2 separate regions of the Homo sapiens genome follow, and region 1 is linked to region 2. The links are contacts of gene promoters, found by promoter capture Hi-C in blood cells and fetal thymus (Javierre and others, 2016). All regions are on one chromosome and are shown on one strand. Each heading gives the region's core, a stretch centred on a gene start or on the middle of the fragment in contact. The rest is flanking DNA. Distances are from core to core; before and after follow the strand shown. Region 1 overlaps PCCA (propionyl-CoA carboxylase subunit alpha). Region 2 holds the start of PCCA (propionyl-CoA carboxylase subunit alpha).

Region 1 (6,802 bases), core at 2,098-4,597, 140 kb after region 2:
CTCCTTCCTTTGTTCTCCTCTGCCGTTGCCTCTTTTAAAAAGTTCTATGTTGTTAGCCAATTGGGACAAATACAAAATGTGAGGTCCTGTTCCAGCCAATGGAAACCGGACACAGCAGTAGGGTGGGCGCCTCAGGTTATAAATGACCCTGTCTCCTTTGTTCAATGTACTCTCGTGGCAAAACTGCTGGCGAATGTACCCTTTCTGCAGAAAGTAAACATGGCCTTGCTGAGGAAATTAAATTTATGTTCCAGTGCTGTTTCTTTACGGCACTGGGGAACAAGCATTTCTAACAGAAGCCTGTCTGGTTCTGAGTCCCTGCCCTGAACCCCTGCCTTTGGATGTCAGTTAACTCACTTATAAAACCGCTGCTCTGGAGATGAATAGTTCTGTTGGCATTTGTGAGATTGTGTCTTATCCTAACAGACTAATTTTTATGGAAGCTGATGCGGATAGTTGTTTATTCATGGAAGAAATAATGTGTTGATTGCGTTAATTTGCTAAACTCTGGGGATTTAGTAGAGAGTAAGACAGCTAGTTGTTGCCCTCATGAAGGTTAAGTGTGAAAAGGGCTGCATAATTGCAGGGCGTGGTGTATGTGTTCATGTGGCAATGATACCTAGCCAGGTGTGGGAGGACTGGAAAGGCACTCTAAAGAAAGTGGCAGGCTGGGCGCGGTGGCTCATGCCTGTAATCCCAGCACTTTGGGAAGCCGAGGTGGGCGGATCACCTGAGGTCAGGAGTTAGAGATCAGCCTGGCCAAAAATGGTGAAACCCTGTCTCTACTTAGAATACAAAAATTAGCCGGGTGTGGTGGTGTTTGCCTGTAGTCCCAGCTACTCAGGAGGCTAAGGCAAGAGAACTACTTGAACCCAGGAGGCAAAGGTTGCAGTGAGCCGAGGTCGTGCCACTGCACTCCAGCCTGAGTGACAGACTCCCATCTCAAAAAAAAAAAAAAAGAAAGAACGTGGCATTAGCTGAAACTGGAAGCATGCCACCCTGGACTCTGGGAGGAAATGGTCATTTTCCTGTCACCCAGACTACTGCCTCCCAGCCTGACTCTTCAGATCCCTCTTGCCTCTCAAAGTGTTCATTTGTTTGTTCATTCATTCATTTATTCTTCCAACAACTGTTGGTTGAATAACAACTGTGCCAGGCGTGTGCTCGGGATTTGAAATACCTAACTTGAACCAGCTGGACAAGGGTTTCTGTCCTTATGGAGCTTACATTTTAATGGGCTAGGGAGGTGCAGAGGGTGGACAGTGCACATCATAAGTAAGCAGATGCTATGCCAGAATTCTCCAGCCTGCAACCAGAGCTAGCCCTTCATTTCCTTGCTCTGAGGCTACAGTTCAGTTTCTCTCATGTGGCTGTGAGGCCCAGCCTTCCCCTCGCCTCTCTCTTCAGGTCCCAGACACTGTTTTTCACTACGCTTCTATTTCTAAGGTGTCTTTTCAGTTACCACGCCTGAGAAAGTTTTCAGGAATCTATTTTTGGATTAGAGATCCCCTGTTGTCACATGCCCTCTTTAAAACTTGTACATAACATGCACCACATAATCATTCCTTAGCTGCTGTGTGGCTGTATTTAAGGTTTGTCTTTTCCACCAGCCTGTAAATTACCTGTTGGCCAAGATGATGTCTTTCTTGTTCCGTCCCGTGTCTTCAGGGCCCAGAATTGGGCCTATTGTAATAAAAGCTGGTTTGGTAAAAGGGGAGAGAGTTACTGGCTGAGGCTGGCTGAACTGAGAAGGCTGTGCAAGGCTGGGGAGCCTGCCTGGGCCTTGGGCTGCAGGGTAAGATGCAAGATGAACAGGGGTGGGGCTGAGACTCATGCTTAGGCGGACAGGATCAAGTATTGAAACCAGCCTAGGGAGTTCAAACTTGGTTTTGAGGCAATGGGATGTCATGAAAAGCTTAAGTGATTTTGGGGACTCCTAGTTTGTTTTGATAACATTTAATATTCTCAAAATCATTAATAATTTGATAACTTCAGGCATGGCTGATTTAATTTTTAAACTATGAAAATATGAAGTATGAAATTATGATTCTTATGGTAAAAAAGTTCAACGTGTACCTAAGAGCATACAATTTTAATTTCCCTTTTCCTACAACTTTTAATCCTACCTTTTACATTTATTTATTTATTTATTCTTAAATATAGACAAGGTCTTGCGATGTTGCTTAAGTCAGTACAGAACTCCTGGGCTCAAGTGGTCTTCCTGCCTGGGCCTCCTGAGTAGCTGGGATTATAGGCCTGAGTTACCATGCCCGGCTGTCTGTCCTACTTTTGAGCAGTAAATTGGTTTCTGTAGCTGTCTAATGCTTAAACTTTCCTGTGCGTTCAAATGTGTATTTCTGTCTTAATGTAGGTAAGGTCATACGCTATGTACTCCAACTTGCTACCCCCGCCCCCAGTATATACTTTATTTTGCTTATTTTTACAGTGTAAGAGTTACTCTCTTAAAGCTTAATTGTCATTTGTCATTGCCTTGTATAGAACCAAGGCATCTTGGACTGTGTACCAAATCCCATAAGATCTGGCCAGAACAGGGCCACGCCGTCCATACCTCCTTATCTTGTGCTTTGCTGCCACTTCCTTACTGTGTTTCAGCTTTAGCTGCCTGATATTCTTTCCCTATGAAATTGCTTCCTCATCTAGGATTTTTATATGTGTGGTTCCCTCTGTCTAATGTTCTTTCTCCCTGATCTTTCCATGGTAGCTAGCTGTTTATGTTTATGTGTGTGTGTGTATGCGTGTGTGTGTGTGTGTGTGTGTGTGTGTGTGTGTGTGTGTGGTTTTAGAGACGGAGTCTCACTTTATTTCCCAGGCAGGAGTGCAGTGGCGCCATCATGGCTCACTGCAGCTCTGACCTCCTGGGCTCATGCAATCCTCCTGCCTCAGCCTCCCAAGTAGCTGGGACTACAGGTCCCACCACCACACCCAGTAATTTTTGTATTTTTTTGTAGAGATAGAGATCTTGCCATGTTGCCCAGGCTAGTCTCAAACTCCTACCCTCAAGTGATCCTCCCATCTTGGCCTCCCAAAGTGCTGGGATTACAGGTGTGAGCCACTGTGCTTGGCCTGGCTAGATGTCTTTATCCTTAGGTTTAAAATTTTACTCCAGAAGGGCCCTTTCTGAGCAGCCTGTCTGAAACAAGTTCTCCCTAGTATTCTTGCCTGAGTACTCTGTTTCTATGTAACATTTATTTTAGTTATCAATTGATTTGTTTATTTTCTGTTTCTCTCATTAGTTTGTAATAAGCTCCATGAAGGCAGAAGATGTATTTCATGTAGTGTTGCTGGGCAGATAGTTATTGAATTAATGTATAAGTGGTTGAATAAGAACATATAGATCAACTGCATTCTTTTTAAAGGCTAATATTTCATTTTATGGATGTACCAGTCCTTTGTTGAAGGCTTACTAAATTGTTTTTCAGAATTTTTTTCTTATTAAAACACCACCAACGAATTCAAAATAATGAATTTCTTTGTATGTCTCTCTGTGTTCACTCATGTGGGTATATCTGTAGGATGACTTCCCAGGAGTAAAATTTCAGAACAAAAGATAACGTGTCCTCAAACTTTTGGTAGATACTGACAATTTCTTTTTAAAAAGATTATCCCATTTTCTATGACACCAGTAATATGAGAAGTATTTAACTTTGTCATCCTGGCCATTATCAGATTTTAATTTGCTAGAGGAAAAGTGAGATCTCATTGTTTTAATTTGTATTTCTGTAATTAGGAGCAAGGCTGAGCACAGATATTGTGCTTCTGGAACTGTTTTTCTGTGAGCTTTTAATTTAATCTTTTGTGATGATTGTTGGTCCTTTTTTTAGTTGATTCAGAGTTTGATTAAAGTTTTTTAAACTTATGATGTTATAGGCAACCTTTACAGTGTGATGTCACTTAGTGCCATTGAATTTGGAGCTATATAGGGCTTTTTATCTCTTCAAAAGTAATTTTGTAGAGCCTGATAATAAAACTTCATGTTCTCAAAGACCATATTGGGGCTGAGTGTATAATATTTAGTAGTTTATTATTGAAACAGTAATAGAGATTTTAATGTCCAGTGCATAATAGGTCCTCAGTAAAGTATTTTTGGATGAATGAGTGACAAGTGAAAAGTTAATTTTTAAGGCAGCTTGATTTTATTTGAAAGTTCATTTAGAAGAATCTAATTTTCATAGTAAGAAGACTTAGCATGCTGTTAAGTTGAAAGATAAGCTTGCTTTGTGGCATGCTATAGAAGTGTTGGATTTGTGGCAGTGGAATTTTTAATTTGCTGTGTCAGATATAGATATGGCTTTATGTATCCATACACACCCAGCTATAACATGTATATTCAAATAAGTGACAAAATATGTCTAATGAATTTTTGAATTACCTTTTAAAACTTGCCTGTTAGTTCTCTCAAGTGATGAACTTTTTACAATAGCAGTTTATTTTCTCTCATCACGTTGGAAAGAAATGTTAAAAGTTTTCTTCTAGGTTTATTATAATCCAGTCTTCATCAGCCATCACTCTTCCTGTATTTTGTTCAAGAGGCACTAATTGTTCGCATTTGGCAGGTTTAACACTTCCTGACAGAGAGGCTATTAAGGGGAAGTATTCTCCAATAACTGTCACTGGCTGGAACAAAGAACCTTCCAACTCAATGTGTGGAAACCACTAACATTCTTAAATGACCCTTTTCATGGATTTTCATCCCTTTAAGCTAAAGTTTGGAGAATGTAGGGTCAGCGAAAACAGCAACGTGTAATAAAGCAGTAAACCTTGATTTTGGAAGGCATAGGGTGGGAGATATAGATTTATCTCTGACTTGAAAACAATTGTTATTTGGAAAATCTCATTAGCAGATGTGACTGCTTGGAGTAAAAAAAAAAAAAAACAACTTAAAACTGATGTCGCTTTCAGGACCCCTTTGAACTTAACAAGCACCTATTTGTGGAGCAGACTGGCTAATGAAAGGAAATTAAATTTTTCTGACAACTTCCCCTGCCAACCTCCTTATTCAGGGGATGTTATTAGGTACTGAAGAACTTTAAAGAAGATTTTTTTTTATTAGACATAAGTGAACCAGTTATAAACATCCCCCCCCGCCCCCTTCTCGGAGGATTCTGACATGGTTGCTCTACATTTTAAACGTATTAGCTTAAAAGCTTAAAAAACACTGGGCTTCACTTCAGCATTTTAGTCATTTTCTAAAAATTCAGTCACACTTACCAGCTGTGGTTTCAAAACAATATTGTCAGTCTTTGTGGTAGTTTAGTTTGTGTCACTGAATTACACAAACACACACACACACACACACACCCCACACATACCCACACACACGAAGGAGGCTTAGATTTCAACATTATCTTTATTGTTATTTGGGGAAATGATTCAGCAGTGTCCTGTGTTGGATGTGTTAGGTGAGGGTTAATGATCAGTGAAATTACTTAGATTCAAGGGAAGTTTTTGTCTTTTCATCTTCTTAGAGGTAGAAGTGGCATTGGTTAATATTTAGCAATAACTAATCCTTAAATGGATAAACTTTTACCCCTTACTGTTTAGGAAGGTATTTTCTTTCTTTTGCTTTTTGGAGTTTTTTCCTCCAGTAGTTGGTTCGTTGAAATTAAAGTTTTTTTTTAATTTATGTAACAAGATACAATTGTAGAGATAAAATATGTACCTGAAAAAAAAAAAAAAGAAAGAAACAATAGAAAAGAAAAGGTAATGCAGATTACCAAAAGGATTTTTTGGAACAATTCGTAATTCCTGTAGGTACTGGAAATTAACTTTCATATTTCTGCAAAATCGATCAACTACTCCCAAACAATAGAGAATCAACTCCCCCTGCTGACAGAATCTAGGAAAACATGACACATAATATTGGACAGAAACAAGCTGGCTGCGGACAAGCTTTAATGACCTGATTTATGATTCAGTATTGATTGTAAACATCTAAATTCTGCCATTAAATTCCGGCAACTGCACCAAATCATTGGCAATTCTGGTAGTGCTTCCTGCCAGCTCATTTCAACTGCTTTGAGTTTCTTAATATAATAATGATGAGGTAGAATTTACATTCCACTTATGGTATTAATTTTACATTTCTCTGAATGAAAAGGGTTAGAAGGTAGTAAAATTGAACATTAAATGAATCGGAGGAGACAGTAGTGCAATATATGACTGCCCTAAAGACATTGTGCAATGCCTCATGGGATTAATGTTGAGTCTCATTTCCTGCTTTTACAGGATGCAGAAGAAGCTGTCAGAATTGCAAGGGAAATTGGTAAGTCCTTAAATTAACTTTGGTAGGATTTCTGTGTCTTTCAGCAGATACGGTTGAGTCAACAGGTAATAAGTAATTCCCATAGAGCAAATAATACTTTAATAGTTTTAGATTTTGATTACTTGTTGCTCTGGAAGAATGTATCAGTTGAATTGCCAAATTCTATTATTAAAGGAGACTGTAAAGAGTAATTTGACCTTAACTATACATAACTCTTTTGTAAGATGAGATCACAGGCTAATTCAAAGAAGGAATTGTCTTAAGAATTCTAAAGATTGGATATAAGTTTAATGTCAATTTATATGTACATAGTTGAATGTGGTTTGTTAAAATTAAGAACATTTGGATTAAAATGAAGATACCATATGTGACATAGTTCTTTAAGTTTTTGCCTTTTGCTAAGATGTTAGGTATCAACTTAATCTTGTTAGATGGGAAAGATAAAATAGATGTGGGAAATTAGAACTGAATGATCTAAATTGGAATAAAAGGTAGACTGGAGGAGTTTTTAATGGCTGT
Region 2 (7,320 bases), core at 1,309-3,808:
CAGCCTACCGAGTAGCTGGGATTACAGGGGCCTACCACCATGCCTGGCTAATGTTTGTATTTTTAGTAGAGATGGGGCTTCACCATGTTGGCCATGCTGGTCTCGAAGTGCTGACCTCGTGATCTGTCCGCCTCGGCCTCCCAAAGTGCTGGGATTATAGGCGTGAGCCACTGCTCCCGGCCACAATCTACAACTTCAAATGGAAAAGGCAAAGATAAATATTAGTCCTCTATCAGTAAGGACACACATGTAGCTGCTGTAACAAAGGCAAAACAAAAAAACACAATGCAATAACTTAAACAAGATACAGTATTTTTCTTGCTTGCATAAAAATCTGAACAAAGCACTCCAGGGTTGACGTGGCGGCTCCACAGAATCAGGCACTAAAGGCTCCTGGTATATTGTTTTGTCTCCCCGATCACCTAACTTCCTTCTTATCATCTGAGATGACAACTTTACCTCCACTGTAGTGTCCACATTCTGGCAAACTGGAAAGAGGAGAAGGGCAAGTGGAAAGCAAGCCTTTCCCTTTAAAGGTATAACCCAAAAGTTGTCTATGTCACTTGTGCTTATGTCCCATTGGCCAAAACTTAGTAACCAAATCTTGGTAAGCACCCTTGCTGCAGTGGGAGTTGGGAAATGTAGATCTTTGTTTAGGTAAGAAAGAAGAGGGCATGGAGGGCACAGTCCTTACATTCCAGACCTTAGTCATGGCGCTACACCTCGTTGTAAGGGAGGCTAGCTATTGCAGCCTTTCGCTGGGTGGCCATGTACCCAGCTAGATCTCAGGGGCACTCTTACTAAAGTAATGCATGGAGAATGGATAGCATGAGAAGCAGTTTCTGCTACAAGTGCCTTTCATAAAAAGAACTCCTATAAGAAAAACAAACAGGGCCTAAGGAAAACTAATCCAAAGGGTAAAACATGGGGAAAAGACAAAAAACAAAAGAAAAAAGAAAAGCAAGTTTCCCAGGTAGAAAATGAATGAAGACTGAGGTACATAAGTGAGAAGTCCTGTAAAATTGATAATCCTTTTCATTTTGTCACAAAAGTCCCTACTTACATTCTAAAATTCCATTAAATGTCACCTTTCTGATATCCCCATTTTATTTCTCTCTCTTTGGGCATTTACCATGCTGTAGTGTACTCTAGGCCATTCCTAGCTTTGTAACTCTCTCAAGGTGACTCTGCAGGAGATGCAAAGTAGTTAAGAGGAGAACCCCCAATACTGATGTGTTTATAGGTGAGGTGGTCTGATGTCTTAGATTTGCTTTAAAATATTCCTGCACAAAATAAAAAGGGGAATAGATGAAACAAGATTGACAAAATGTTGATTCATTGACGCGGTGTAATGGGTATCTGGGTGATCATAGTACAATTTTATCTCTTTTGTATATATTTTAAAATTTCCATAATATAGCAAAACATGAGCCCAGTCCCTCAAGGCAGCCAGATTTGGGTTCAAACCCTAGTTTGACCTTTTACTCGCTGAGTGACTTTACCCTGCTACAGCTTCAGTTTCTCCAAATGGAAATAATATATACTCCATTAAGGTTCTTGTAAACTCTCAAGTAAGAGGGAATCTGAGGCTCTAGCACACGGCCCGGCCCTTAATAGTTGTACTAATTTTTATTTTATTTTTCGAAACGGAGTTTGCTCTGTCACCCAGGCTGGAGTGTAGTGGCATGATCCGGCTCACTGCAACCTCCACCTCCAGGGTTCAAGCAATTCTCCTGCCTCAGCCTCCTCCCGAGTAACTGGGATTACAGGAGTGCGCCACCACGCCCAGCTAATTTTTGTATTTTTTAGTAGAGACGGGGTTTCGGCATGTTGTCCAGGCTGGTCTCCAACTCCTGACCTCAGGTTATCCTCCCGCCTCGGCCTCCCAGAGTGCTGGGATTACAGGCGTGAGCCACTGCGCCTGGCCAGTAGTTGTACTAACAAGGGTTTCTGCTTGCGAGCAACAAAGACTGACTCTAGTTGTGGCTAATTTCTTTCACACACACATATTAAGTGCCAGAGGTAGGACTTGAGCTCGGATCTCTGATTTCCAGACCTAGAACTTTTTATGTGTTATTACAGTCGTTAAAAACCTTACCTGGATTTGTGCTTTGCAATTTACGCTTTCGAACATGCAGGAATGTAGTTTGGGCATTTGTCTGGAACTTCGGATTCTCGGGACTCCAGGGTGGCCAAGGCGCGGAGGTGACTCAATGACATTGACCGGCCTGGATGCACGTGGGTTGCTGAGCCGATGCTGGGAAGGTACGGGGTTTGCCCGGTGCAGGCCGCCGGAACTCACGCACGCCCCTGTCTCTCTCACTCCTGGGGTCGGCTCTGGCCGGTGGCCTCCAGCTCAGCTAGCGGCCGGACGCGCAGCCCGCCGACTAGCCCTCCAGGTCCTAGCGCGACTCCCGGATCCCGGATCCGGCGGATCTGGCCGACCACTCACCCTCCCCTTTCCGCAAGTTAGGGGGCGGGGCATCGGGTTTCTGGCTCGTGATTTGCCGGAGCTCCTGCGCTCCCCTTCTCCACCCCCTCCGGCTGTGTGAGAGGTCAGCAGAGGGGCGGTCTGCGGGGACAACAATGGCGGGGTTCTGGGTCGGGACAGCACCGCTGGTCGCTGCCGGACGGCGTGGGCGGTGGCCGCCGCAGCAGCTGATGCTGAGCGCGGCGCTGCGGACCCTGAAGGTGAGGAGCAACGGGGCCTCGCGGGTCCGGGCTTCACTGGGCTTCTAGCCGTGCCGCCTCTGGGCGGCTGGCGCCGGGAGAGCGCTGGCTGGGTCCGGCTGCCCCCGCGCCCCGGTTCCGCATCAGCTACACCGCTTGCTTTCCTCCCTCCCGGAGTTCGCGTGGCAGCGGGCTCAGGAGGCATCCCTCGTTGCAGCTGTTCCTCGCGGGGATCCTGCGGAGCAGAGAGGCCTAGGGCAGAGGCAGTTGGGTGCCCGCACGCCCTCCGAGGCGGCTGATGGCTTTGGGCAGGCATATTGCTCGAGGTCTGCTTCCAGGGCCCCGCGGCATTGGCTTTGTCTTAAGCTTTCCAGGGTGTCTTTTTAGGTGTCCTTATAGTTTCCGTGTTCTGTTGCCTCTTTCCAGCATTTTTGAAGGGACACTGTGAACTGTTGCTTAAGTAGTGTTAGGGTTGTGAGTTTGTCTTATCTTTTAAAGTATTATACCATGTCAGGACTGCCAATAGATTTTACGTTTCATTTGAAAGCCTGTTTTAATTGTATGACACCCCAGTCTACTGTGTACCAAATGCATCCCGTGAACTTACTTTCCTTTTCGGTATAGTGGTGAGCCTGATTTTGGCACTGTTCTAAACACATTTCATGACTGTTCTGTATACCTAGGCTGTCATGATGGCAGATTGACAAACAGGTTGGAGTGCTTGTGTGTGCTTCTGAGCTCTGTCTCCAGTCAATGTCGAGTCTGTCGTTAATTCTGGGGCACAGACCACCTAACCTACTTTATAAGGTTTGTTGAGGCACTTGAACACATTCTTTAAAATGAAGGTCCCCTGAAAACCATCTGTCAGCTGGTTCAGTGTGCTTGTTAAACTTCCTTTTAAAAAATAATTATTAAAACATTGCCACATAACTTGATTTATAGTCATTTAATTTTAGACGTTGAAGACACTTTAGAGACGACCTGCCCCATCCTACTCTTTAAAGAGGAGGGAACCGAGCCCCAGGTGGGCAGTATGAGAGCTGGAGCTTATCGACATGGAAGTGAGTGGCACCTATGTTTGTTTTGTGTCCAATTCAGCGTGCGGACTTTCACTGTTTTCTGTGTTCCCATACAGTTTAGTGTTCTTTAATCTTTATCATTCTGTTCATCTGTGTTGGCCACTTCAATTGCAGCTGTAAGACTTATGCATTTACATAGGAGGCAAGTTAGTATGGTGTAAAGTGTGGGCTTTGGGGTCAGGCGCATGAGGCTTTGTATATTGGACAGGTCTCTTCCTTGGGCGTCAGCTTCGTCCTTGTAGCTATTTTTTTCAACAAATATTTACTGAATATCTCCTGTCTTCCACTTCTGGGGAATGAATATGGTTTCTGCTTTCTTAGAAATTTTACTCTAGTAGGGAGACTGTAACAAGTGTAAAATGGTATTAGGGGAGATGCCCGGGTGCTATAAGAAAATAAAATAGAGGGATTTGACCAAGCCAAGATTTTGAATTCTGTGTTCTAGATACTGTTCTGTTGCTTTGCTTGAACTAATTTATTCAATCTCACAACAGTCGTATGTCCCCCATTTACAGAAGATGAAAGTGAGGCACTGAGTGTTAATGTGACTTGCTCGAAGCTATAGTGCCAATAAGTGGCAAACAGGATTTAGAACTCCAGAACCTGTGCTCTTAATCATACTATGCTATCTACGGTAAGGGAGTGTTTTCCTTTGGAACTGAAAATTGAGACAAGTTTTGAAGGATGAAGTGACCTTTTCTAACAAACAGAGATGAATGTTATAGGTGAGAGAGCAGTGTATGCAAAGGTCCTGTGGCCAGAGGGAATGACAGGTTAGAAGAACTGAAAAAAGCCTACAGAGGCTCTGATGCAGAGAGTAGATGGTGTTGGGGAAGCTGGCAGGAGTCAGACCATCTGGCTCTTATAGATCACATTATGAGGTTTGGTGTTTGTCTTAGAGCAGTGGGAAGACATTGATGTTGGAGGTGGGAGGGATGACACTGACATTTTAGATTGGAGAGGCTGAGAGGAAGGCTGTTACTGTACTTACTGTTGTACACTTGTTATACACTTACTGTGTAATACATACGCTTTGATGATTCTTACCTGGTTTTTTCCTTTTAATGTGTTGGCAGAGACTGCATCTTGTCTATTTCTGTGTTCTTAGTACAATGTTTGACACAATAGGTGCTGAATGTGTAACAATAGAGTAGCATTATGTTTGTGCCGGTAAAGAATTCCTCCTTGGGGTGGGAAGCATCTCTGAAGTTCACTATCACTCTAGGGGAACTTGAGCTGCTGCTTAGCTTCTCTCTGCGCTTCTCTTCTATGAACTTGAAATATGCTCTACTGAGTCTGTTTGAAGCTGAATCTTTTGAAGATTTTAACCCCTCCCATCCCTCCCTCCACCTCTGCAAACCTTTTGGTTGGTTGAAAAGCAGCCAGCTAACTCTAGGGTCTAGTCTAGAGAATTCTGACCATTCTTTTAGCCAGTCAACAGAGTTTATTTATTTTTAGGGTATATGTAGAGTTCACCTTTTAGTCTTATTTGTTTTGTGTATCAGCTTTTTAAGCACATTCTGTTTTAATGCCTAGTTTTTTCTTCTGCGTAAATGTTTTCAGTGGCTCTAGGATGTTGGTTTTATGGTAATTGCTATAGTTATTATTGAACTCTTATATGCCTTGCATGATTTTTCTTTGCTTTTCTTTTTTTTTGAGATGGGGTCTCGCTCTGTTGCCAGGCTGGAGTGCAGTGGCGCGATCTCAGCTCACTGTAACCTCCACCTCCTGGGTTCAAGTGATTCCCTTGCCTCAGCCTCCCAAGTGGCTGGGACTACAGGCGCACGCCACCACCACCGGCTAATTTTTTTTTGTATTTTAGTAGAGATGGGGTTTCACCATGTTGGCCACCTCGATCTTCTGACCTCTTGATCCACTGCCTTGGCCTCCCAAAGTGCTTGGAATTACAGGCATGAGCCACCGAGCCCAATGGTGTGATTTTTCATATATCTTTTATCCTTATAACAACTAGGTAAAAAATCCCAATTTTACAGTAGAGGAAACAAAGCTCAGGGCAGTTAAGTAGTTGCTTAAAAGCACAATTGGCTGAAGTAGAATTTGAACCTTAGATAATATGATTCTGAAGGCTTTCTTTTCTTTCTTCCTTTTTTTTTTTTGAGATGGGGTCTGGCTCTGTTGGCCAGGCTGGAGTGCAGTGGCATGATCTTGGCCTACTGCAGCCTCTGCCTCCTGGGCTCAAGCCATCCTCCCATCTCAGCCTCCCAAGTAGGTGGGACCACAGGCACGTACGACCACACCTGGCTATTTTTTAATTTTAATTTTTATTTTTTGTAGAGATGGGGTTTTGCTATGTTGCCCAGGCTGGTCTCAAACTCCTGAACTCAAGCAATCCACCCACCTCAGCTTGCTTTTCTAATTACAAATTGTCTCATTTGAATCATGGTCTCATTGTGTGATGCATTCATGAAATTTGAATGTTTAAGCCCTGTGTTACTTGACATCCATTATTTTCTTTTGTAATCAGTAAATATGGAAAAGAATGTTTAGGCTTATATGAATGCTTTAGAATTGCCTGGAGGTTAATGTTTCCAACATGCTGATAAATTTCTGACAAATCATTTGGGAAAAGAAATTTCTGAGATTATTACAGAAACTAGTTTCTGGTGTAAAAAAATGTTTATAGACATTTATATATTTATACATCTACCATTTGGATTTTATTCTGTTCCTGAGAGGTTCAGAACAGAGGTAAAAACTGCTCTAGTCCTTTTCTAAGAGGAAAAGATGTGACATTTTTGATGAAGAGTGAGGGAAAAGGATTTGTTTAAATGATTCCAAACTTTAAAAAATGTAGGTGGGAGAACAAGGATGAAAAAGGAATTTGGGAAGAAACACTTTTTTGGTGGGGCTGGAAACATAGTGTTTCATTGTAGGTATCTGGAGTTAGATGCCCGCAGGAGCCATGCTGAGGTGCTGGGTATCAGTGGCTGGCTTTTGGGCCAGGGATACGAGGCTAGAGTTAGAGTTAGAACTGTGAGCCCTGACGGATATAGTGAGTCAGTTAATATTTAATTGAATAAATGCTTCGTTTTATAACCCTAAATTAGGATTTGGAAGAAGGAAGAAGAGACAAGAGGAGTTAGAGGTATGGTTTGAGAGGAGCCAATGTAGTGTAGTGTTACCAAACCTAGGAAAGAAATTTCAAGAAGTAGTTAGCATTCATTCATTCATTTGTCTAGAGATCTAGCTCTTTACTCAGAAAGTGTTTGTGGAGCATTTTCTAAGTTCCAGGTACTATGGCACGTACAGAGGAGAGAAAAAGAAATTAAAACATATTCCCTAACTATGTCCCAGGTGCAGAGAGGCTAAGGAATAAAAGATTGATGAGGCCAGGTGTGGTAGCTCACGCCTGCAATCTCAACCCTTTGGGAGGCCAAAGTGGGAGGATTTCTTGAGCTCAGGAGTTTGAGACCAGCCTAGGCAACATAATGATACCACCCCCACCCCCGGCTATCTCTACAAAATAAAATAAAATAAAATAAAAATTAGCTGGGTGTGGTGGCACGTGCCTGTGGTTCTAGGTACTTGGGAGGCTGAGGAGGGAGGATCA

The links. The method cuts DNA at HindIII sites, captures the fragments that hold promoters and counts their contacts. A CHiCAGO score of 5 or more calls a contact.
Region 1: a fragment that was not itself captured here is called in contact with the fragment with the promoter of PCCA in region 2 in 1 of 17 cell types (M0 macrophages); the score reaches 6.9 in M0 macrophages.

What each region holds. Positions count from the first base shown.
Region 1 is chr13:100,229,596-100,236,397 of GRCh38, forward strand. It overlaps PCCA (propionyl-CoA carboxylase subunit alpha), which reads left to right. Exons shown (of 24, transcript NM_000282.4): 8 at 6,247-6,283. Among named protein-coding and RNA genes, the nearest start is that of PCCA, 140 kb to the left of the region's middle. The HindIII fragment of the contact is 1,762 bases long and covers 2,467-4,228 here.
Region 2 is chr13:100,086,535-100,093,854 of GRCh38, forward strand. It overlaps PCCA (propionyl-CoA carboxylase subunit alpha), which reads left to right and starts at 2,559. Exons shown (of 24, transcript NM_000282.4): 1 at 2,559-2,691. The coding sequence starts at 2,587. It overlaps PCCA-DT (PCCA divergent transcript), which reads right to left and starts at 2,409. Exons shown (of 2, transcript NR_132422.1): 1 at 2,099-2,409; 2 at 1-193. RefSeq lists enhancers at 2,089-2,138, 2,169-2,428 and a silencer at 2,709-2,888. The HindIII fragment of the contact is 8,226 bases long and covers 1-3,034 here.